Linked DNA regions of Homo sapiens: all the other regions are linked to region 1. Evidence: promoter capture Hi-C in 16 types of primary human blood cells and fetal thymus (Javierre and others, 2016). All regions are on one chromosome and are shown on one strand. Each heading gives the region's core, a stretch centred on a gene start or on the middle of the fragment in contact. The rest is flanking DNA. Distances are from core to core; before and after follow the strand shown.

Evidence for each region. Contacts are between HindIII fragments. The CHiCAGO score rates a contact against its expected background, and 5 or more counts as called.
Region 2: a contact is called between a fragment that was not itself captured here and the fragment with the promoter of GCSH in region 1, in 1 of 17 cell types (neutrophils). The highest score is 5.2, in neutrophils.
Region 3: a fragment that was not itself captured here is called in contact with the fragment with the promoter of GCSH in region 1 in 1 of 17 cell types (fetal thymus); the score reaches 8.4 in fetal thymus.
Region 4: a contact is called between a fragment that was not itself captured here and the fragment with the promoter of GCSH in region 1, in 5 of 17 cell types (naive CD4 T cells, naive CD8 T cells, non-activated CD4 T cells and 2 more). The highest score is 13.6, in naive CD4 T cells.
Region 5: a fragment that was not itself captured here is called in contact with the fragment with the promoter of GCSH in region 1 in 4 of 17 cell types (naive CD8 T cells, total CD4 T cells, non-activated CD4 T cells and 1 more); the score reaches 7.8 in naive CD8 T cells.

The regions. Positions count from the first base shown.
Region 1 is chr16:81,093,666-81,098,272 of GRCh38, forward strand. It overlaps GCSH (glycine cleavage system protein H), which reads right to left and starts at 2,730. Exons shown (of 5, transcript NM_004483.5): 1 at 2,466-2,730. The coding sequence starts at 2,613. RefSeq lists silencers at 2,147-2,816, 2,967-3,066. The HindIII fragment of the contact is 7,249 bases long and covers 1-3,585 here.
Region 2 is chr16:81,880,194-81,884,800 of GRCh38, forward strand. It overlaps PLCG2 (phospholipase C gamma 2), which reads left to right. Exons shown (of 33, transcript NM_002661.5): 8 at 717-760; 9 at 3,076-3,148. Among named protein-coding and RNA genes, the nearest start is that of PLCG2, 100 kb to the left of the region's middle. The HindIII fragment of the contact is 5,892 bases long and covers 368-4,607 here.
Region 3 is chr16:81,780,641-81,785,247 of GRCh38, forward strand. All of the region lies in intron 1 of PLCG2 (phospholipase C gamma 2), which reads left to right. Among named protein-coding and RNA genes, the nearest start is that of PLCG2, 3.7 kb to the left of the region's middle. The HindIII fragment of the contact is 1,317 bases long and covers 1,992-3,308 here.
Region 4 is chr16:81,748,559-81,753,165 of GRCh38, forward strand. The region is part of intron 2 of LOC105369213 (a long non-coding RNA gene); the gene reads left to right. It also overlaps a transcript of PLCG2 not described here. Among named protein-coding and RNA genes, the nearest start is that of PLCG2, 28 kb to the right of the region's middle. RefSeq lists enhancers at 274-343, 3,508-4,116, 4,117-4,607. The HindIII fragment of the contact is 7,152 bases long and covers 1-4,607 here.
Region 5 is chr16:81,731,834-81,736,440 of GRCh38, forward strand. No RefSeq gene overlaps it. Among named protein-coding and RNA genes, the nearest start is that of PLCG2, 45 kb to the right of the region's middle. RefSeq lists an enhancer at 4,587-4,607. The HindIII fragment of the contact is 1,057 bases long and covers 1,961-3,017 here.

The DNA.
Region 1 (4,607 bases), core at 1,480-3,979:
CCCCGTCTCTACTAAAATACAAAAAATTGGCCGGGTATGGTGGCGGGCACCTATAATCCCAGCTACCCTGGAGGCTGAGGCAGGAGAATCACTTGAACCTGGGAGGCAGAGGTTGCAGTGATTCAAAGACCTAAGTCTTTATTTTACTAAGCATGCTGTTTAGGCTAAAGGCAATGATTAGTACAATTCTCCTTTAACCCTTGGCCCGACAGGAAGAAGTGGATAGATTAGGTAAATAATTACTTTCTTTTTTTGAGACAGAGTCTCACTCTGTCGCCCAAGCTGGAGTGTAGTGGTGCAATCTAGGCTCGCTGCAACCTCTGCCTCCCGGGTTCAAGTGATTCGGCCTCATCCTCCCAAGGAGCTGGGATTACAAGCACGTGCCACCACGCCCGACTAATTTTTTGTATTTTTGGTAGAGACAGGGTTTCACCATGTTGGCCAGGCTGGTCTTGAACTCCTGACCTCAGGTGATCCGCCCGCCTCAGCCTCCCAAAGTGCTGGGATTAAAGGCATGAGCCACCGTGCCTGGACAATAATTACTTTCTAACTGGGCCTTGAAAAAGGTGGTTTTTGGCCTCGGAAAATTAGGAGTTGTGAGCAATTTATGAAAATTTTGCATTTTCCTTTTTCAATGTCACTAGTCAGATAAAATATTTTATATTAGTATTAGTCAATTTTTCTTCTCTTTTTTTTTTGAGATGGAGGTGTGCTCTTGTCGTCCAGCTACTCCACAGGCTGAGGCAGGAGAAGTGTTTGAACCCGGGAAGCGAAGGTTGCAGTGAGCCAAGATCCTGCCACTGGATGCCAGCCTGGGCGACAGAGCGAGACTCCATCTCAAAAAAGAAGAAAAAAAAAAGGAACGAAAACCACAGACTTGAAACTAAATTCTTATCTGAGAAATGCTTTACCTTTGTATTCAAATTAGTGATGTAGGGATCCCTATCAGAAACAGAGCGGACAGACTATTAGCAAGACAGCATAAGTAAATCTTTATGCTACAAATTTTGGAATAAATTTATCAACCATTCCAGCTCCAAACAGGTTTCTAAAACAATGAGCTAATGAGACAAGAGCCATCACTGATCTACGCAATCGAAGCAGAGGAGCAGTCAGTGTATCAAACATTTGGGCGTAAAGAAAATTGTTGGCCTGGCGCGGTGACGCACGACTGTAATCTCAGCACTTTGGGAGGCTGAGGCGGGTGGATCACTTGAGGTCAGGAGTTTGAGACCAGCCTAACGTGGCGAAACCCTGTCTCTACTAAAAATACAAAACTCAGCTGGAGGTGGTGACGGGCGCCAGTGAACCCAGCTACTCGGGAGGCTGAGGCAAGAGAATCGCTTGAATCTGGGAGGTGGCGCTTGCAGTGAGCCGAGATCACGCCGCTGCACTCCAGCCTGGGCGACAGAGCGAGGCTCCGTCTCAATAAAAAGAAAAAAAAAAAAAAAGAAAATTGTTTTTCCCCTGCAATAATTGTGCTGAAGTAGCACAAATGGCCGAAACATTCATGGGCAGGTTTCCCAGTTATTTCAAGTCCGTTTGAGTTAGGGCTCATTTCAGCAAGCACACACATGAATGATCCAATACAAACTTTAGCAGAACTTCTGTTGAGTCCAGAAGACTTTATCTTACTTGTTTTGGGGAAATAGCTGAATCTTCAAAGTTATGATTGTTTTATCTAGTAAAAAAATCTAGATCTGGCGCTTTAATTTTTTTTTTTTTTTTTTTTTTTGAGGTGGAGTTTTGCTCTGTCGCCCAGGCTGGAGTGCAGTGGCGCGATCTCGGCTCACTGCAACCTCTGCCTCCCAGGTTCAAGCGATTCTCCTGCCTCAGCCTCCCGAGTAGCTGGGATTACATGCGCATGCCGCCACGCCTGGCTAATTTTTTGTACTTTTAGTAGAGATGGGATTTCACCGTGTTAGCCAGGATAGTCTCGATCTCCTGACCTCGTGATCCGCCCTCCGGCATGAGCCAACGCGCCCTGCCTGGTGCTTTAATTTTAATAAGCGCTTCTGTTTTAATTTTACTTCGGAGTTCTCAGTAACGGTCCATTTAGTAAACTAAAGGCCTCCCCATTTGGGGTCTCAACGATGCACGCAGATGGGAGATAAACTTAAGGCCACCGAGACGCTTAAGCGACACGTGCCTGGCTTCTGCAGCAAGCGGCCGACCTGCCCGCCGGACCCGCCGGGCCACCCCCGCCTCGGTGTCCCGCAGGCCTCCCCTCCCGGCTGCATGCAATCCCTAGGGCAAAGGCTACTCGCGGGTCCTCCCGCTACTTAAGGGGGAGAAGCGGCCGCAGAGCCAGGGATCCCAACAGAAATAAGAAGGGGGCAGGGTCCGCGCTCGCTCCGCCCCGGTGGCTCAGGAGCGGTGCCCCGGCGTCCTCCGTGTCCCGCTGGGCCCGGGACAAGCAGCCCAGGCGGGGAGGGAGCAGCCGCCCACGTGCCCGCCGCGCTTACCCGAGAGCAGAGCGGGTCCAGTGCGCAGCGTACGGACGGCGCCCACCCCCAGCTGCCAGGGCCTCGGCGGGCAGGGCGCGGCGGGTGACGGGACCGCGCGCAGGGTGCAGAGCAGGGCCCGCACGCTCCGCACCACTCGCAGCGCCATGTTCGCAGGGGTGCGGGGGTCGCAGCGCTACGCCTCGGCCACCCGCGCCGGGAGGCGGGGCGGGGAGGGGCAGTTCGCGGCCGGAGGGAGCCGGCTGGATGGAGGCGCGGAGGCGGTGCCGCGGGGGCGGGACAGAGCCTGACTGGGCAGAGCGTGGAGGGCGGAGACTCCCAGGCGAGGGGGCGAGGCAGGGTCTGATTGGCCAGCACGCGGAGACTGGGGACTCCAGGGCCTGGCGCGACCTCGGATACGGCGACGCGAAAGAGGGGCGTGGGCATGGGGAAGAACCTGAGGCCCGGAAGAGGCAGCACCGAGAGGCGGAGACTAGCGCGGCGGGCCTGGGTATGATTGGGCTGCCCGCAGGAGGGGGGCGGGGCCTAGCCCCAGACTGGGTTCCTTTCCACATGTGTATCTCTTTTACTGCCTCTGTCATAAGTTTTCAAAGGTGGTTTCACCACCTCACGAAGGAATTCAAGAACAAGTCGGAAAGTCGTGAAAGTACAGAGGTTTACTGCAAAGTACACACTGAAGAAAGGGCGGACTCAAAAGAGGGCCACACAATGGGGCTTGGGGTTTCCATCTTTATGGGTTTCTTTGAGAAATGGAATATACACAAAGGTTTCTGGAATAAGGTGGAGACTTGTCAGAACTGTGGTGCCACCCATTTTTACACCAAATATGGGTGTTCCCGGAATTGTTGTGGTGCCGGTGGGTGTGTGACTTAGTATGTTAATGAGTCCTAGGTGAAGCCTAGGTCAAAGCCACACCACGTTGGGTCCAGTTGGTTTTAGCCAGGTTGACCCACACCCTGGTTTTTCAGGGTCTTAGCCCATAGCTTGTGCAGCTATTTCAACAGTTTCCTTTTGTTAGACAGAACTGCAGCCTGGAAGTTTCTATTCTCCTTCAACTGCTCTGTAACGTTCCTGTCTCAAAGAGCCCCAGGGACCCCAAACAGGACCGGCAGAATCCAGAAGCTTACTTAAAAAGGAATAAAGACTTGTCCAAGGGTCATAAGTGGCTTCTTGGTGGAGACTGGACCCAAGCCAGTCACTAATGCAGAAATATTCAAAACGCAGAGAGCTGAGACCCAGTGTGCACAATTCCTTGTTTCATCGGCCAGCGGTGTGACCAAGGCCTTCCGAGAAAAGCCGAAGTCATCATCCCAATCCAAGAAGTCAGAAAAAAATTAGGTTCTGGGAAAAACCTCACCTTTAACACAGATTTTATGGAGTGGCCATGAGTCAGCAAAGAAATACTGTTCTGAAAAACACCTTAAGCTACACACACACCTTTAGTACTGTTACAGAAAGGGCTCCCAATCCAGACCCCAAGAGAGGGTTTTTGGACCTCATGCAAGAAAGAATTTGGGGAGAGTCTATAAAGTGAAAGCACGTTTAATAGAGAAGTAAAGAAAAAAAAGAATGGCTTCTTCGTAGACAGAGCAGCAGTATGGCTTCTCGACTAAGTGTACTTATAGTTATTTCTTGATTGTATGCTAAACAAGGGGTGGATCATTCAAGAGTTCTCCAGAAAAGGGGCAGGGATTTCCTAGAACTAACGGTTCCTCCGCTTTTTGGACTATAGGGTAACTTCTCTGGACGTTGCCATTGCATTTGTGAACTGTCATGACGCTGGTGGGAGTTGTTTTTTTTTTAACATGCTAATGCATTATAATTAGCGTATAATGAGCAGTGAGACCTACCAGAGGTCGCCATCTTGGTTTTGGTGAGTTTTGGCCAGCTCCTTTACCGCATCCTATTTTATCAGCAGGGACTTTGTGACCTGTATCTTGTGCCAACCCTAGCTCATCCTGTGACTAAGTGAGGCAGGTGAATCACTTGAGGTCAGGAGTTCGAGACCAACCTGGCCAACATGGAGAAACCCCCGTCTCTACTACAAATCCAAAGTTTAGCCAGGCATGGTGGCAGGTGCCTGTAATCCCAGCTACTCAGGAGGCTGAGGCACGAGAATCACTTGAGCCTGGGAGGCAGAGG
Region 2 (4,607 bases), core at 2,064-4,563, 790 kb after region 1:
TCGTGCCACTGCACTCCAGCCTGGGTAACAGTGAGACCCCATCTCTAAAGAAACCTGGCAGTGAGGATATAGAAAAAGGTATGTGTACCCCAGTGGAGGTGCCTATCTCAACTGTTTTGAGAGCACCTTGGCAGAATTTATCAAAGCCAATGTGCCTACAATGTGCTGTGTCTACGCGCTTTTCCTTCTAGGACTCTACTCTGTAGAAAAACTGGCACAAGTGGGCAAAGATAGAGAAATAGGCACACAGGGACACTTAAAAATAATACTAGATGTTACAAAAATCAAGTGACATGCTTATTGTGGAATACAATGGTTTTTCAAAGAAAGGAAACAGGGTTATTTGAGGTTGCAGAATAATATGTAAAGCTTGAAACACAGCAAAAAATTGTGAGATGTACGTAAATGTTATAATATGATATGATACCATTAAATGAATATCCCTAAAACAAATTCTAGAAGGAAACCTATGAAATGCTTAAGGGTGACTGCTTCTTGGGAATACGACTGTGGAGGGAATGAGGAGGGCTTCTACCTTTTGCTTCTTAAGTTTCTGTTATATTTGAATATTTACAACTAACATCAACTAAAATGATATTTTTAATGATCTTGTTGCATCTGACAAAATGATGCTTTTTTAACAACAAAAATCTTTCCGTTTTTGCATTAAGTGACTTGTCTAAGGTTCTTTTTTTTGTGTGTGCTTTCCATTTCAGATTCTCGATGAATTCAAAAAGGATTCGTCCGTGTTCATCCTGGGGTGAGGCAGCTCTTGTGTGTCGTTCGGGGCGGCTGTGCCGGACCTCGGTGCCTGGTGCCCAGCCGGCCTCCAGGAGGGGATGCCTGTGTGTGCAGGCGCTGACCTCCAAAGGGGCAGGGGGCCCCTGCTGGGGAATTGGCCATCCCATGCCTGTGGCGTGGATAGAGATGAGCAGTAGCAACAGGAAGGTGTGGAGCACTGGGAGGATGGTCCAGAAAGTTCTGTAGAAAAGCCTGTGTGCCTCAGGGCCTCCTTTCCCCGAATGTGCCTCATGAGATGTGACAGGTTAATAGTTTTTTTTTTTAATTACAAAAACTAATGTTAATGATCAAATAAGTGAAAAATTCCTTGTTAAACAGGTTTAACTGAATTAAAATGAGTTCAGGTGTATAAACTGCTTCACATGATGCTTGGCACCCATGAGGGGCTGATAGATAGTAATATTATTACTAAAAAGTCAGAGTTGCAGGACTTATCAGGACATTCACTGTGCCTCATGATTTCCCAAGTGGGGAATTTCTGAGATGTTATGTGTTTCCCCAGCCTATCTGACTGGGAGAAATGTTGGCCCTGGAGTTAATGGTCTGGGGTACGTTGATCCAGTCTTTATCGGTGAGCAACTTTTCCCTCTGTCACTTTTGAAATCAGAAACTCCAAGACTCCAAAGTATAAATAAAATGAATCTAATTTTTATATAGTATGTATATTCGAGACGGAGCCTCCCTTTGTCGCCTAGGCTGGAGTGCACTGGCGCAATCTTGGCTCACTGCAACCTCCACCTTCCAGGTTCAAGCGATTCTCCTGCCTCATCCTCCGAATAGCTGGGACTACAGGCATCCATCATGTCCAGCTATTGTTTTTTTTTTTTTTGTATTTTTGGTAGAGATGGGGTTTCACCATGTTGGCCAGTCTGGTGTTGAACTCATGACCTCAGGTGATCCACCTGCCTTGGCCTCCCGAAGTGCTGGGATTACAGGCATGTGCCACTGTGCCCAGCCATAATTTCTATGTAGTATTTTAATGAAAACTTAGTGTTAGACTGTGAGGCTGGTGGGGAAAGGTTAGAATTGTACTCATAATCAAAGACAACAGACTCCTGGACCCTGAGTGTTTAGTAAAGGGAGAAAGCTCAGGGCATGTTTCATCTCTTACACTATTTGAAATAGACCTCTTTTCCCCAGGCTCCTGCAAGTGCTCAGGGAAACATACCCATTACCCTGGGAAGCCCCGTGTAGCAGAATGTACTCCCCATCCAACCCGGGGGTGGCTCGTGCTGGCCCAGTGAGGCCCTGTTTTTCTGGTGGCCTGCTGGCCAAGGCGGGAGTCCTGCCTTTATTCGGAGTGTAGTGTTCCCTAGTGTTCCCTACCTGATACCTAACCTCTGCTTGGTCCAGGGAAGTGTCTTTCACACTGCAGTTAATTTTGCCCTGATGGCCTGGAGTCTGGTGGGGCCTCATGTGGCTCCCACTCCAGAGCACTCAATGACCCAGGGAACTCTGGATCGTGGCTTCTGAGGAGGCCCTTGGGTCTGGCTCCTGTCCTTTCTCCAACACCAGCTCTCCCTCTACGGGCGGGTGGTGTGTCGAGCCCTGTCTGGGTATTGGATAGGCACACTCACATCCCTGTGTTCCCCACACCTTTTGCTCTGCAATCCCTCCCTCTGGCCTGCGTTCCCTCGCTCCTACTCCTCTTTCTTTCCTCCCCTCCCTTCTCTTTTTTCCTCGAGGCCGCTGCTTCTCTGGTTTCCTTGCCAGGTACTCTCTGCACCTCCTTCTTGCTCACCCCACCTCATTCTTGCTCACCCCACCTCATTCTGGCTCACCCCACCTCGTTCTGGCTCATCCCACCTCACTCTCTGGAGCTCAAGTAGGTGCCTTTTCCTCAGGAAAGCCCCTCTGGTCCTCCAGGTCTGGGTTTGGGGCCTTCTCAGCCATTCCCACTCTTCCCCTCCCTTCCCACCCTCATCTCTTGCTACACTGTATCCCATATGCCTGGTTCACCTGTCTTCCCCATGGCCACACTCCTGGAGGGGCTCCTCAGACTCTGGGGTGCACCAGAGCTATTTTGGAGCAGCTAAATGTAGACACCAGGGCCTGCCCCTTGAGATTCCGATGTCAGGGTCCCTCTGAATCCTTGTAGGTGAGGGACATTGTGTCACTCACCTGTGTCTTCCTGTTGGCCAACCTGGTACCTAACACAGTGCCAGACTAAGTGGGGCGTTCTGGGTGGCAGGCTGCCCCATTGGCTGGCATCTCCTCTCGACTCCTCTGTTGAATGTGTCTGTCTCTAACTGCACCCCCTTTCCCCGAGGATAGGAACACTGACAGGCCGGATGCCTCTGCTGTTTACCTGCATGACTTCCAGAGGTTTCTCATACATGAACAGCAGGTGAGAGCACAAGGTGTGTGGGTGCCTGAGGGAGCTGGCGGGATGCTGCTGGGGACTAGTCTCACCCTTCTGCCGCCTGTGCTCACCTGGTCACCTGTGCTCACCTGGCCACCTGTGCTCACCTGGCCACCTGTCTTCATGGAACGATTGCAGTCTGCCAGATGCCAGAGACTTCAGATTGCTGTCTGATGCCACTGAAACTCTGGATGAGAAGAGCCTCATGTCGGGCCTCTTTTGAAGGCACACATTGAGGATGAGAAGACTGAGAAGATGGCAGGGCAGGAGGGGTGAGGGCCTGAGGATGGGGCTGCCCTCACCTGGCTGGGTGCACCTTTTCTGGCCATCATCTCAGGTGTCACTGCCTGGGAAGCCTTCCTTGACTGATGGGAGGATGGGATCAGATTCATCAAGCCTGCCAGGTCCCCTGGGAGATAAACTAGCACAGCTTTCCTTAAACAGGTGATGCCTGGGACAGTCTCCCTGGACAGGGTTTGCCTGTGGGCTCTGAGCCCAGCTATAGACTCAAGGGGGGGTTGTGTTGCGCCTTGGTTTTCCACTGCTGTGACGATGCCCCCAGAGGACACTGGGCAGTGTCCAGAGACGACATGGGTGCGTGTCACAGCGGGAGGCTGCTGCCGGCATCTAGCAGGTCAACACCAGGGATGTTCCTAAATATCCTACATTGCACAGGGCAGCCCCCCCTACCCCCCAGCGAAGAAGTATTCAGGGCCGGGTAGGGTGGCTCACGCCTATAATCCCAGCACTTTGGGAGGCCGAGGCGGGCGGATCACTTGAAGCCAGGAGTTCGAGACCTACCTGGCCAACATGGTGAAACCCCATCTCTACTAAAAATACAAAAATTAGGCAGGCATTGTGGTGGGTGCCTGTAATCCCAGCTACCTGGGAGGCTGAGGCAGGAGAATGGCTTGAACCTGGGAGGTAGAGGTTGCAGTGAGCCGAGATTGCGCCACTGGACTGCAGCCTGGGCAACAGAGCAAGACTCCGTCTCAGAAAACAAAAAACAAAAACACCCCCACCCCACCAAAAAAAAAAAAGTCAAAGAAGTATTCAGCACCAAGTACCTACAGTGCTGAGGACAAGAAACTCTGTGAGAGTGAGATCAACTTGAAATCATCTTACCAGCTGCACAGCCACCGACAGGTGGTTTACCCTTTTTGTGCCCCAGTTTCCCCCTCTTTAAGTGGGATTGAGAGCATCTACCTCTGAGAATTGTGGGGATCAGAGTCAATTGTATGGATCTGTGTGTGTGTGTGTGTGTACATGTATGCATGTCTTTTCACATATAAATCTCAAATTTTTGTTTATATCATTGGAGTTCCATTTACTTTTTTCTTTTACTTCATTTGTTTTTTTTTAAATAGAGTTTATATTTTAGAGTAGTTTTAGGGTTGCAGCAAAAATAAGTTCATTTACTTAAAAAACCTCTTGTCTTGCAGAA
Region 3 (4,607 bases), core at 1,400-3,899, 690 kb after region 1:
CCTCTGGAAGTGGAAAAGCACAGACCCCATGAATAGCCCTTTTGCACTCATTGGGTAGAGTCAATGAAAAGCTGCTGGTGAGAAAACTTTTGAAAACATTTCTTGGTCAGGCACGGTGGCTCACACCTGTAATCCCAGCACTTTGGGAGGCCGAGCTGGGCTGATCACTTGAGGTCAAGCGTTCCAGACCAGCCTCACCAACATGGTGAAACCCCATCTCTACTAAAACTACAAAAATTACCTGGGCGTGGTGGTGGCCGCCTGTAATCCCAGCTACCCAGGAGGCTGAGGCAGGAGAATCACTTGAACCCAGGAGGTGGAGGTTGCAGTGAACCCAGATCATGCCACTGCACTCCAGCCTGGGTGACAAGAGAGACTCCATCTCAAGACAAACAAACAAACAAACAAACACACACAAACACTTCTTAATTTAGAAAACAGCAAGAACACAAAGAGAAAAATTTGCCCGTTACATCATCAGTTAATATAAATAAAGTCAAGTTGTATCCTCTACCCTCTCCCAGCCTCCGATAAATAGTAACCACTCTCCTGGATTTACCAGAAGATCACCTTTATAAAAAGGGAATTGTATTATACTCATACAGTTGCAACTATTGTCTGAAGCTATTTTTTTATTGACCTCACAAATCTTTCCAGATCAAATTGCTTATCTATCATCCTCATTCTTTCTGATGGCTACTGAGCGTTCTTCAGTGCATGTGCACCATTATTTATCCAGGAGGCCCCCCACATTGATGAGCAGTTGTTTTCTGTTTTTTTTTCTTTTTTTGTATTTCTATTGCAACTATTGCTTCCGTGATTTTCTGTCGTACATATTGCATCTTTGTGCATGTCTTTCTTTACATGTACAATTGCAGGATCGAAGCATATGCGTGTTTTGCTTTTTAGTAGCTGCTCACAGGTTGCCCTAAAGGAGCAGGGGTGGAATTTACACTCTCACTTGCAGTGGCTGACACCATTCCTTTGAAAATAGTGTATTCCCTCTAATGCTGCAGGGTGGGTGTAAGGTGCAGCAGTAATGTCCCTTGAACTGTTGGAGGGGCCCTTACCACTCAAGTATTTGCCTGTGCTCCATTTTAACACAATTGTCTTGTGGGATTTTTGGATGAAATCCTGTACTGGCTTACCATGCACAGAGCACTGAAGAGACAAAAACTTCCTTGATTTCTGGTTTTGGGTCCTCGCATCTCATTTCATGTCCTTTCCCCCCCCCCCCCCGCCCGCCCCCGAGACGGAGTCTTGCTCTGTCGCCCAGGCTGGAGTGCAGTGGCGCGATCTCGGCTCACTGCAAGCTCCGCCTCCCGGGTTCACGCCTTTCTCCTGCCTCAGCCTCACGAGTAGCTGGGATTACAGGCATGTGCCACCACACCCGGCTAATTGTTTTGTATTTTTTTTTAGTAGAGACGGGGTTTCATCGTGTTAGCCAGGATGGTCTTGATCTCCTGACCTCATGATCCGCCCACCTCGGCCTCCCAAAGTGCTGGAATTACAGTCATAAGCCACCGTGCCTGGCCCATTTTATGCCTTTCTAAATAAGCTTATGAGATACAAGAACATGAATGAGCTTATGAGATACAAGAAAAACCTTTAGAAGGACATGAAATGTAAAAATGGCAAAAATCAGTTATTCAAACTCAGCCATATTTGTATTTACAAAATAAGTCATTTTATAGAATTACCCATTAAGAATGGGAAACAGGAACAAAAAAGGGATTTCAAGGCTTTTTTTTTTCTTTTTTTGAAAAAACCAAAAAAAGCAGAAGCAAAATGGAAGTTGCTGTGGTGGCTGGTGCTCTCTCCTGGGCTCAAGGTCTTGGAGACCTCCCTGCCATAGTTGATAAAGCGTGGAACGCTGGAGACCTGAGCTGGGTGCTGGCAGGATTTGAATGGTGGACTCCAGGGATCTTTTGGCCGTGAAGATCTGTTTCCAATTGCATCTCATAAGCTCATTCATGTTCTTGTATCTCACAAGCTTATTTAGAAGGGCATTTCGTGAGATACAAGAACCCCAAACCAGAAATCAAGGAAGTTTTTCTCTTCAGTGCTCTGTGCATGTTAAGCCAGTACAGGATTTCATCCAAAATCCCACAAAACGATTCTGTTAAAATGGGGCACAGGCAAATACTTGAGTGGTAAGGGCCCCTCCAACAGTTGAATGGACATTACTGCTGCACCTTACACCCACCCTGCAGCATCAGAGGGGATACAGTGTTTTCAAAGGAACGGTGTCAGCCACTGCAGGTGAGAGTGTAAATTCCACCCCTGCTCCTTTAGGGCAACCTGTGAGCAGCTATTACAAAGCAATTGGTGAGACGCAGCATGGAAGTCTGGTGTTTATGGCTGAGTTGATCCACTGGGCTTCGAAGCTGGAAGTAACTGGGACCCTGGGGAAGGTTAAGTCCAAGGCCCTCCCAGAGTGAGGGCTGGAAAGAACTGAGGAGCCTGGTCCCTTGTCCTGGTTTCTGTCTAATTGAAGGTGTTATAATGGGGCTTGTGTTTCCTACTTATGTTCCAGTGGACTATGGCCTAGAGACCTGGGAGTGGGGAACTCCAGGATGCATGGCTGGGAACAGTCAACATAGTGAAGAGCTCTGTGGTTGGCAGCTGGGTCAAATCCAGTTTCAGCTACTTTTTTAAAATTTTATTATTATATTATTATTATGCTTTAAGTTTTAGGGTACATGTGCACAACGTGCAGGTTTGTTACATATATATACACGTGCCATGTTGGTGTGCTGCACCCATTAACTCGTTTTGCTACTTTCTATCTGTGTGACCTCGGATAAGTCCCTTAACCTCTTTTGAGAGTGGCAAGTACTGGCAAATCAGTTAATATCTGGCCAGATGCTGCCACAGGATTCTGGACTAGGGGCTTGGGACTCAGGTGAGGGTTTTGATCTTTGTGCTGCTGCTGGTCTACATGACTTTGATCAAGTAATGTGACCTCTTGGGATTTCAGTTTTCCGCTGCCGTATTTCCCATTGAGATAAATGAGACGAACCAGACACAACAGGTGCTTGGCACCTGGGGAAGGGCCCAATAAATGGCTGCTTAACAAGGATGAAATGGACCATGGGGGCACCTTGTTCATCCCTTTGTCCTGGCTAATGATCAGGAGGTCATTTTGGGTTTCTCCTGATAAGGTAAGATGCACATTAACTCTCAGCAGGGTTTTTTTTTAGCATACTCTGTTCTGCCTCCTAGCCTTTGCTTAAACTTAAAGCCAGTTCCTCCTGCTTCATCTTTTTTGAAAGATTGAGTTCAGATGCCTGCTTTTTTCCCCTGAAAGCTTTTTCTGAGCCCTTTAAGTGCCTAGCCACACTCCAGATTAAATTTAGGATTCCTTCTTGCTGCTCTCTGCCCGCCGTGCCCCCAGTGCATGCTTCTGCTGCTGCACTTGTAACTACATTAGAATTCTCAGTTGATTAGTCTGTTTCCCCATGGGCAGAGAGCAGGTGTAATTATCTCCTGCTGCTGGCATGGCTGACCGAGGAGGTCCCTTTGGTATGGGTGTGCAGTAGAGGGAGGTGGGGGCAAAGGGCAAATCCTGGGCCCCTCCCCATTCCCCTCATTTGCATCCTAGTCCCCACCTCAGTGCCTGGCATAGAGTTGACATTTGATTAATGCCTTCCCCAATGGCTGATTAATGCTAACTGAGACCCTGGTAAATGCTGCAGGCTGTGCATACATTGTAGCTTTTTGTCTTCCCAGCTGCCCCTTGTGGGCATTTAACCTCCATTTTACAGATGAGGGAACCGAGCCACAGATTTAGAGCAGCTTGGCAGAAGGCTGAGCCCGGCTGGAAGCACAGACAGCCCTGGCTGAACACCAGCCTCTCACTCCTCCTTCTTTGGATCCTGGGAGGGTCTCTCTAGTGCTACTCTGTAACCTTGAGAGCTACAGAGTAACAACTCCAGGCACCTCCAGGGACTTGGAGGGAAAGGAGGAGATAAGAAACAGAACAAATAATGGTAATTTTAACAATAGCTTAATCTAAGGAGTGCTGACTTTGTATCATTGTTTTAAGGGCCTGAGATACATTATCTTGTTTAAGCCTTACAAAAACATTTAGATGGTGGATACTGTTACCTTCTTTTATGGGACTGGAAATGAGCCCAGAGGATCTAAGTGACTTCTTGCAGCCTAGCTGGCAAGGGGGTCCCTGGTGGTTCAGCTCCAGGGCCTGGGGAGCGCCTTCACTCTAAGTCCTATTTTGGGGGCAGGCAATGTGTTTCTGGGGATTTGGGAGGCAGAATGAGGGAATGGTACAGAGTGAGGGCTCAGGGAGGGACTAAGGGATTTTGAGCAGAGGAGTGACATGATTTGATTCATGTTCTAAAAGGATCCTTCTGGCTCTGCATCTGAGAATTGACCCTAGCAGGTCAGGGAAGAAGTGGGGAGAGCAGGATTAGAATAGTTCAAGTATGAGATCCTAGGAGGAGCCGGTGAAAGGGTGAGATGCGTTGGAAGTGGTCGTGAGAGAGTCCACGCAAGGATTCCTCCAAGGTTTTGGGCCCAAGCACCTCTCTGACACTGACCACCCACAAGCATAAACAGCAATCAAGGACACCTCCTAGGTGCTGGCC
Region 4 (4,607 bases), core at 824-3,323, 650 kb after region 1:
TAGGGGTAAACAGGGGACTTCTTGCACTTACCCCTTGAGACCTTTTGAATGGCATGCCATGTGCCTGTATAAACTATTCAAATTGCAAAAAAATAACTTCAAAGAAGACTGTTTCTGGGAAAGCACTTGTGGTCAGAAAACCCCAGACTCGGATCTCCTATTCCCCATTTGTAGACTTGATGGTAAACCCAAACAGAAGGAAGGAAAGCCAGTGACTTTCATATCTGTTTCCACATCTTATCCTCATTACAACCCTGTGAACCAGTTAGGTTTTATCGGGCACATTTGACAGATTAGGAAAATTGAGGCTCAGAGAGGCTCGGTGAGATGCTGGCAGAGCTGGGATTGAAACAGTCTTGACTATGACTGTACCTGGCTCCTTCCCTCCTGCAGGGGACCTCTCCAGGCACTGAGGCCTGTGGCGGGGGGTGGCAGGAGAGAGCTCAGGGTGGAAGATGTGGGTGAGGTTTACTTCCAGGCTGTGGTGCTCACTAAAGCTCCTTTCCACTGCGACTTTCACAAGGGGGCCCCTCAGTCAGGAAACAGCAGTCTAGGATGCCGGGCAGCCAAACCAGGGTTTGATTTACATGTTCTCACACTACTGGTTGGGTGGTTTATTTGGGAAGGTAGGAGCTAACTCAGCCAAAGATCCTGTTCTCTGAACCCATCTGGGTTGCTTTTTAACATCTCTATAATCCCTGAAGATGTAGATTTTAAAAAATCACTTGATTGATTTTTGTCAAATTATATGCCTTAAACAAACTAAACTTTTTCATTAAATAAATTATATTTTATTTTTTATTTTTTTGCGATGGAGTCTCATTCACTCTGTCATCCAGGCCGGAGTGCAGTGGTGTGATCTTGGCTCCTGGCAACCTCTGCCTCCTGGGTTCAAGCAATTCTCCTGCCTCAGCCTCCTGAGTAGCTGGGATTACAGGCGCCTGCCACCAAGCCCAGCTAATTATGTGTATTTTTAGTAGAGACGAGGTTTTACCATGTTGGCCAGGCTTGTCTCAAACTCCTGACCTCAAGTGATCCATCCGCCTTGGCCTCCCAAACTGCTGGAATGACAGGCGTGAGCCACTGTGCCTGGCCTTCATTAAATAAATTTAAAGAAATAGATGAGTGTTACCAATTCAAGCAATGAAGTATTTGGAGGGCAATTTGGTGTTTCTGTCAAAATTGTTTTGGTATGTGTCCAGCATTTACACAGCAAATGATTTATCTTTCCCTGTGGATATACTCACCCCACTGTTCAAGGATACATGTCCAAAGATGCATTGCTTATGAAGCAAAGACACAAACCTAGAAAGAGCTGAGATGTCCCTCAATGGACAGCTGCTTCACTTAAGTGTAATCCATCTACGCGGCGGAATGCAAGGTACCATGGTTGAGAAAAAGAAAGCTGGCTGGATTTGCTGACCTAGAAAGAGATCTGCAATATACCGTTAAGTAAAAACAACAGTAGAATAATATGATCCCATTGTGAAAAAAAAAAAGTTAAAAACACATAGAGGTATCTATGTTTTAGCAAACATAGAAAACAATGTATAAGATCCAGCAATTTGGCTGGGTGTGGTGGCTCATGCCTGTAATCCCAGCACTTTGGGAGAACAAGGCGGACAGATCACCTCAGGCCAGGAGTTCAAGACCAGCTTGGCCAACATGGTGAAATTCCATCTCTGCTAAAAATACAACAACAACAACAAAAATTAGCTGGACATGGTGGCGGGCATCCGTAATCCTAGCTACTCAGGAGGTTGAGACAGAAGAATCCCTTGAACCTGGGAGGGGAAGATTGCAGTGAGCTGAGATCTCACCACTGCACTCCAGCCTGGGTGGTGATAGAGTGAGACTCTGTCTCAAAAAAAAAAAAAAAAAAAATCCAGCACAGCAATCCCACTTCTGGATATTTACCCAAAAGATTTGAAATCAGTTTGTTGAAAGATGTCTGCACTGTCAGGTTCATTGCAGCATCATTCATAATAGCTGAGTTATGGAATCAACCTAAATGTCCATCAACAGATTAATGCATAAAGAAAACGTGCCACATATTTACAATGGACTACTATTCAGCATTTAAAAAGCAGAATGGGGACTGGAGATTTTTTTTTTTTTTTTTTTTTTGAGATAGAGTCTCCCTCTTTTGCCCAGGCTGGAGTGCAGTGGCGCGATCTCGGCTCACTGCAAGCTCCGCCTCCCGGGTTCATGCCATTCTCCTGCCTCAGCCTCCCGAGTACTTGGGACTACAGGCGCCTGCCACCACACCTGCACCTGGCTAATTTTTTGTATTTTTAGTAGAGATGGGGTTTCAACATGTTAGCCAGGTTGGTCTCGATCTCCTGACCTCAAGATCCACCCACCTCAGCCTCCCAAAGTGCTGGGATTACAGGCGTGAGCCACCGCACCCAGCTTTTTTTTTTTTTTTTTTTTTTTTTTCAAACAGAGTTTCACTCTTGTTGTCCAGACTGGAGTACGGTAGTGCAATCTTGGCTCACTACAACCTCCACCTCCAGGGTTTAAGTGATTCTCCTGCCTCAGCCTCCTCAGTAGCTGGTATTACAGGTGCATTCCACCATGCCCAGCTAATTTTAGTATGTTTAGTAGAGATGGGGTTTCACTATGTTGGCCAGGCTGGTCTCAAACTCCTGACCTCAGGTGATCCACCTGCCTCAGCCTCCCATAGTGCTGGGATTACAGGCATGAGCCACTGCCTCCAGCCTGGAACTAGAGATTGATGGCCAGGGAAATTCTGTCATTTGCGACAACATGGATAAAGATGGAGAACATTATGCTAAGTGAAATAAGCCAGGCCCAGAAAGACAAGTGTCACATGTTCTCACTTATATGTGGAATCTAAAACAGTCAAACTCATAGAAGCAGAGAGTAGAATGGTGGTTACAGAGGCTCGAGGACGGGAAATGGGGAGATGGTGGTCAAAGCATACAAAATCTCAGATAGGAGGAATATGGGTTTTTTTTGAGACCTATTGTATGGCGTGGTAAATGTCATTAATAATAGAGTATGGTACATTTCAAAATTGCTAAGAGAGTAAATTCAAACAGTCTCATCACAAAAAAGTTAAGTGTTTGAGGTGATGGATATGTTAACTAGCTTTAATTATTCCACGTTGTATTCATAGATCATAATGTCACTTTTTACCCTATAAATATGTAAAAGAGTCCGGGTGCAGTGGCTCACAGCTGTAATCCTAGCCCTTTGGGAAGTCACGGTGGGTGGATCACCTGAGGTCAGGAGTTCAAGAGCAGCCTGGCCACCATGGTGAAATCTTGTCTCTACTAAAAATATAAACATTAGGTGGATATGGTGGCAGGCGTCTGTAATCTTAGCTACTCGGGAGGCTGAGGTGGGAGATTTGCTTGAGCCTGGGAGGCGGAGGTTGCAGTGAGCCGAGATTGTGCCACTGCACTCCAGCCTGGCCAACAAAGCAAGAGTCTATCTCAAAAAATAAATATAAAAAAAATATAATATATGTATATAATATATATAAAAGAGCTAGGATTTGAACCTGCAACTCTTCACTGTGATGTAGGCCCCGTCTATCACGTATGAACTATGAGCCTGCTGAGTGCTGGGTGCTGAGCTGGGAGCTCCCACTGTTCCCCAACACTGCGTCTCAGAGTTCCCTGATGCTGGAAGCCTGGAGGCCCTCACAATTCTAGGGTGTTTTTAGAATATCATTGTGGGGTGAAAGCAGGTTCCAGCTTCCCCAGGTGGAAGGTTCCAAGAAGCACCCGGCCAGCTCTGAGAAGTACCCGGCCAGCTCCTCCACTCTGCCTGACAGGGAGGGGACTGTGAGGGTTGGGACACGTCCTCTTTTAAGGCTCTCTCTTGCTGGCTTCTGACCACTTCCTCTTTTTCCTGGGGTGGAGGCGGCTGGCCGTGGCAGCACTAATAGCAGCTGGGGGCGGAGCAGGCCTCCAAAAACCCTCCCGGAGTGGCTCAGCCCCTCGGCTGAGGGCAGGAGAGCAAGAGTCCACTTCAGCTTCCATCTGAGGTCTCTGTGAGCCCCCAAAGGAGGGGCTGGGAGAGGTGGTCCCCTTAGCTCCCCCTCCCCAGCCAGAACAGAATCACTGACCCTGAGGCTTGGCCTGGGCTGCATCTGCTTCCAGCAACTTCCATGAAGGACGTGACTGTAGACGAGGCCCACTCCTTGCACGGCCAGGGCCCTCAGGGTGCCCAGGGAAGTGAGGGCCAGTGCTGGAAGCTCCAGCCTAGCACTGGGCACCTCCCCGGTGAGTGGCTGTTGGGGGCAGAGCTGCCAGCAGGGAGAGGACAGCTATGAAAGACGTGGCTCCAGGCCTTGCACTGCCACCTGTCAACTCGGGGCTTTGGGCAGGCTGCTTTTCTCCTTTGGGCCTCAGTTTCCTCATCTGTGTAGTGGAGACCAACCACGGTACTTCGAAGGTCTGTAGAAATTCCTGGTACACAGCAAGTGCTTAATAATGGTATGAGCTACTATTAGCTAGTGCCTGTGGCTCAGTCTGAGCTGTCCAGGGTGCCCCACCAGCTTCTGCTGAGGATGGCCAGTGGCAGCTCAGCTCTGCTCCCGGCCTCGCACCCTTCCACACCCCCTCGGCCCTGCC
Region 5 (4,607 bases), core at 1,239-3,738, 640 kb after region 1:
GGGCACTGGCTCTCTCAGCTATTAATGTTTCACTGAACTACTCGGTCAGTGCCGAAGCCGTTGTGATGAAGCCTGCGTTAGTGAGACCCGGCCTGCACAGGAGCACATGAAGAGGGAACCAGAAGCCTCTTACTGACCTCCTTCCACTCCCCCCGTTCTGTTTCCAATGCCTATTCACTAAGGAACATTGACCGAGCCCCTCCTTGTGCCAAGCAGTGTCCTGAATGCTTTATGAGGTCACGGAATCCTCCCTGTGGCCCCAGGACCTACAAGGGACATTTTGGAAGCCGCTGGTTTATTTATTGTTGAGCACATATGTGTTCACACATGTGTTCCCTGGAGCACATGTGTGAAATGGTGTTCTTCTTGGCGCTATGGACTGCTCTGTCAAATCTTTCCAGTTTGTTTTTTTAATAGATGTATTTTTTGTTTTTGGAGACAGGGTCTCACTCTGTCACCCAGGCTGAGGTGCACTGGCACCATCATAGCTCACCGCACCCTCCACCTCCTGGGCTCAAGTGATCCTCCCACATCAGCCTCCTGAGTAGCTGGGACTACAGGCCAGTGCTACCATGCCTATTTTTAAATTTTTTATAGAGACGGGGTCTCACCACGTTGCCCAGGCTGGTTTCAAACTCCTGGCCTTCAGTGATCCTCCTGCCTTGGCTTCTTAAAGCACTGGGATTACAGGTGTGAGCCGCCATGCCTGGGCTTTTCCAGTTTCTTAAAATACCTTTAGTAGCACAAAGTCAGTCTAAGCTAGTTAAGACTTTGGCCTCAAAACTCAGTTCACGTTTCCTTCAGCCCCTCCCTTTTCTGAGCACCTGCCTCATTTTGCTGGGGTTGCCCTTGTCCTCCGTAGGCCATTGCTGCTTCTCTGGCTGACAACAGGGATGTTCAAATGGTGGTCCAGGTGTGAGCTTTGGGAGAGACCCCATGAGGCAGGGGTGGAGGTGATGGTCCCCAGGCCATATTCCCCCCAGCCCCTTCCCCCTGTGGGCCACCTCCCGCTGCCCCCTGCTGGGTCTCTTCTTCCTTTCTGGGTGGCATAACAGGAAGCTATCTCAGGCTTACTGCCTCCTGGTGTCCACTTGACTCCCAGAAAGTCACACTGCCCTGACCTGTAGACTGGAGGACATTGCTGTGGTCACCTCTCCCCACCCAGGCACCTCTTGCTAGCTGCCTTTCTCTAGTCCAGGCAGGCAGCATGAAGATCAAGCATCACCTGCCTTGGGCTGGGGGTGGCTGGAGGACAGGAGTGAACCCGGAACCTGGGAAGGAGATTTCCCTCTTTTTCTCTCCCTGCTCATGGACCTCAAGTCTTCTGTTGGAGGTGGGATGACATATGGAGAGAGTGGAACATTTTGCACCACTTTTTAATAAGCCCTGAAGTCGTCTTTTAGTTTTCTACCTTTAGAACATGGGGAACTCATGCCTAGATGGTGATTTCTAGACTGCTAGAGAAGGCTCACTCAGTCTCCTCTTATTTTGACCATCCATCTACCCAATGATCCATCCACCCACCCTCTATCCATCTATTCTCCATCCATCCAGCCATCTACTTATTCATCCATCTGTCCATCCTCTCTCCATCCACCCTTCCACCTACCCATCCACCCACTCACCCATCCATCCATCCATCCATCCATCCATCCGTCCATCCACCCACCCATTCATTTATCTATCTACCCATCCATCTATCCATCCATTCACCATCATCCACCCACCCATCCATCTATCCATCCACCCACCTATCCATCTATTCATCTATCCAGCCACCCATCCATCTATCCATTCACTCATTCATTCATCTATCCATACATACATTCACCATCCATCCATTCATCCATTCACCCTCCATTCATCGACGTTGACTGTACACCTACTATGTGCCAGTCACTCTGGTAGATGCTGAGGATCTAGCAATGAACAAGCAAGACCAAAATTCCCATGCTTATAAAGCTTATGTTCTGGGAGGAGTCAGGCAATAACAAAATCAACAATGAAAAGATATAGTGGGCCAGGCGTGGTGGCTGGTGCCTGTAATCCCAGCACTTTGGGAGGCTGAGGCGGTAGATCACTTGAGGTCAGGAGTTGGAGACCTACCTGGCCAACATGGTGAAACCCCATCTCTACTAAAAATACAAAAATTAGCCAGGTTTGGTGGGACCTAGCTACTCGGGAGGCTGAGGCACAAGAATCGCTTGAACCCGGGAGGCAGAGTTTGCAGGGAGCTGAGATGGTGCCATTGCACTCCAGTCTGGGTGACAGAGCGAGACTCCATCTCAAAAAAAAAAAAAAAGAGAGAGATGGAAAAGATGTAGTACCTTAAAAGGATAAATACGGTAGAGAAAAATTAATCCAAACAGGGGACTGGTGAGAGTTGAGGAGGGGTATCCAGGTGGGGCTCACTGAGAAGGTGACATTTGAGCAAAAACCTGAGGGAAGGGAGAAGGGAGCTGAGTGGGTATTTGGGGAAAGAGTATTCTAGGCAGAGGGAACAGCCAGTGCAGAAGCCCAGAGGTGGGAGTGGGCACAGAGTGTGAGGAGCAGGAGGAGGGGATGCAGCCAGGGCAGAGTGGGCACAGGGGAGGAGAGGGGAGGGCCGGGTCAGCGGCTGCTTGCGGGCCTCTGGGTGTCATTGGTTTCACTGTCCATCCGCTCGGTCCACAGTAGCTCCACATGCACTGCAGCACTTGCTGCTCACCGGGCCCCTTGCTGAGGGTTCCCCTGTGCACGTGTCATCTCATCTCCAAAATAGTCTCATCATTCTCATTTTATAGATGAGAAAACTGAGGCCTGAGCCTGTAAGGTGAACCATGAGGGATGAGAAGGGAATAGGCTGGAAGTGGGTATTTGGGGTGGGTCGGGCAGAGCCCAGGCCTACATGACATTCTCTGGGAAGAGGCAGCCAGGCCTTTGCCAAAAACCTCCCTATGGCTGCCCCAGTTGGCCCAGGTTCTTGAACCTAGAAGAACCCAAATCTTCTTGTCACAAACTCTCTTGGGGAGGCAAGAAGCTTCTCTGTTCCCAGCCTTCCAGGATGACCAGCCCCAGCGGGCGTGTGTGTGGTGGGGTGGGGGAGAGGGAGGGACAGAGCCAGGTTTTTCCTACCAGGCAGGCCCATGCAGCTTGCGCGTGGGTGGGTGAGAGAAGGGTGGGTGGTTCTTAGCAGAAGGAGATGATGCCAAATGGGCCCAGGAGGTGGCCAATAGCATCCAGAGGCCAGAGCTGCTCTGGCAGAACCAGGCACTGGCTCCATCTCACAGTGGTCCAGGGGCCACATTTGAGCCTCCCTTGGCCTGTCTTGGCAAGAAATAGAGAGCAGACATTTACAAAATGTTTGGTTATTCATTTGACAAATATTTACATGCGTCTACTGTGTGCTAGGCCCTGGGTTCTGTACTGAGTAGATGATGAGTGAGTGGGTGGATGGGTGGGTAAATGAATGAGTGGATGACTGGGTGGATGGGTAGCTGGATCAATGGATAGATAGATGGATGATGGATGAATAGATTGGTGGGTGAGTGGATGGGTGAATAAATGGGTGGGTGTATAGATGGATGTGTGGATTGTTGAGTGACTCATGGATGGATATATATTAGTTGTTTATTGCTATTTAACAAATCATTTTAAAATTTGTGGCTTAAAGCAGAAAATATTTATTATCTCACTATGTCTCTGGCTCAGGAATTTGGGATTGCCTAGCTGGGTTGTTCTGGCTCAGGGCCTCTCACACGGCTGCTGCAGGATGGTGGCTTGGTCTGCAGTTTCATATGACAGCTCGCCTGGGGCTGGAGGATCCACTTAATGATGGATCCCTTGCACAGCTATTAACAGGAGGCCTTGGTTTCTCATTACACTGGCCTCTCTGTAGGCTATGTGAGTGCCCTCATGATGGCAGCTGGCTGTATTCAAGGTCAGTGATTCTAGAGAGAAAGAGAAAGACCAAGATGGAAGCCAAAGTGCCTCTGATGACCTTGTCTCCGGGTCTTACACCATTACTTCTGGTTTTTCCTTTTTTTTTTTTTTACCTGTTAGAAGCAAGTCACAAAGTTCCACCCAAACTCAAGGGGAAAGGAAGTAATTTCCACCTCTTTGTGTTTTTTTTTTAAGACAGGGTCTCACTCTGTTGCTCAGGCTGAAGTGCGGTGGCGCAGTCATAGCTCACTGCAGCCTTGACCTCCTGGGCTTAAGCGATCCTGCTGCCTCAGCCTCCCAAGAAGCTGGGACTACAGGAACATACCACCATGTCCAACTAATTTTTGGTATTTTTAGTAGAGAGAGAGAGAGAGGTCTCAAACTCTTGAGCTCAAGGGATCCTCCTGCCTCGACCTCCCAAAGTGTTGGATTACAGCCGTGAGCCAATATGCCCGATTAGTTTCTACCTCTTGAAGGAGGAGTATGAAAGAATGTGTGGGCACAGTTTAATACCATCACAAGAGATAAATGGCTAGAGCAGCAATAATTCTTCCAGGGTGCTGAAATCTTAGAATGATTTTAAACCAGGGATTCTCAACAGTAACTTCATGTTAAATTCCTCTGGGACACTAAGAAAATATCAGTTTTGGGGAATCAACCTTGACATTCTTATTAGTCTGGGGAGT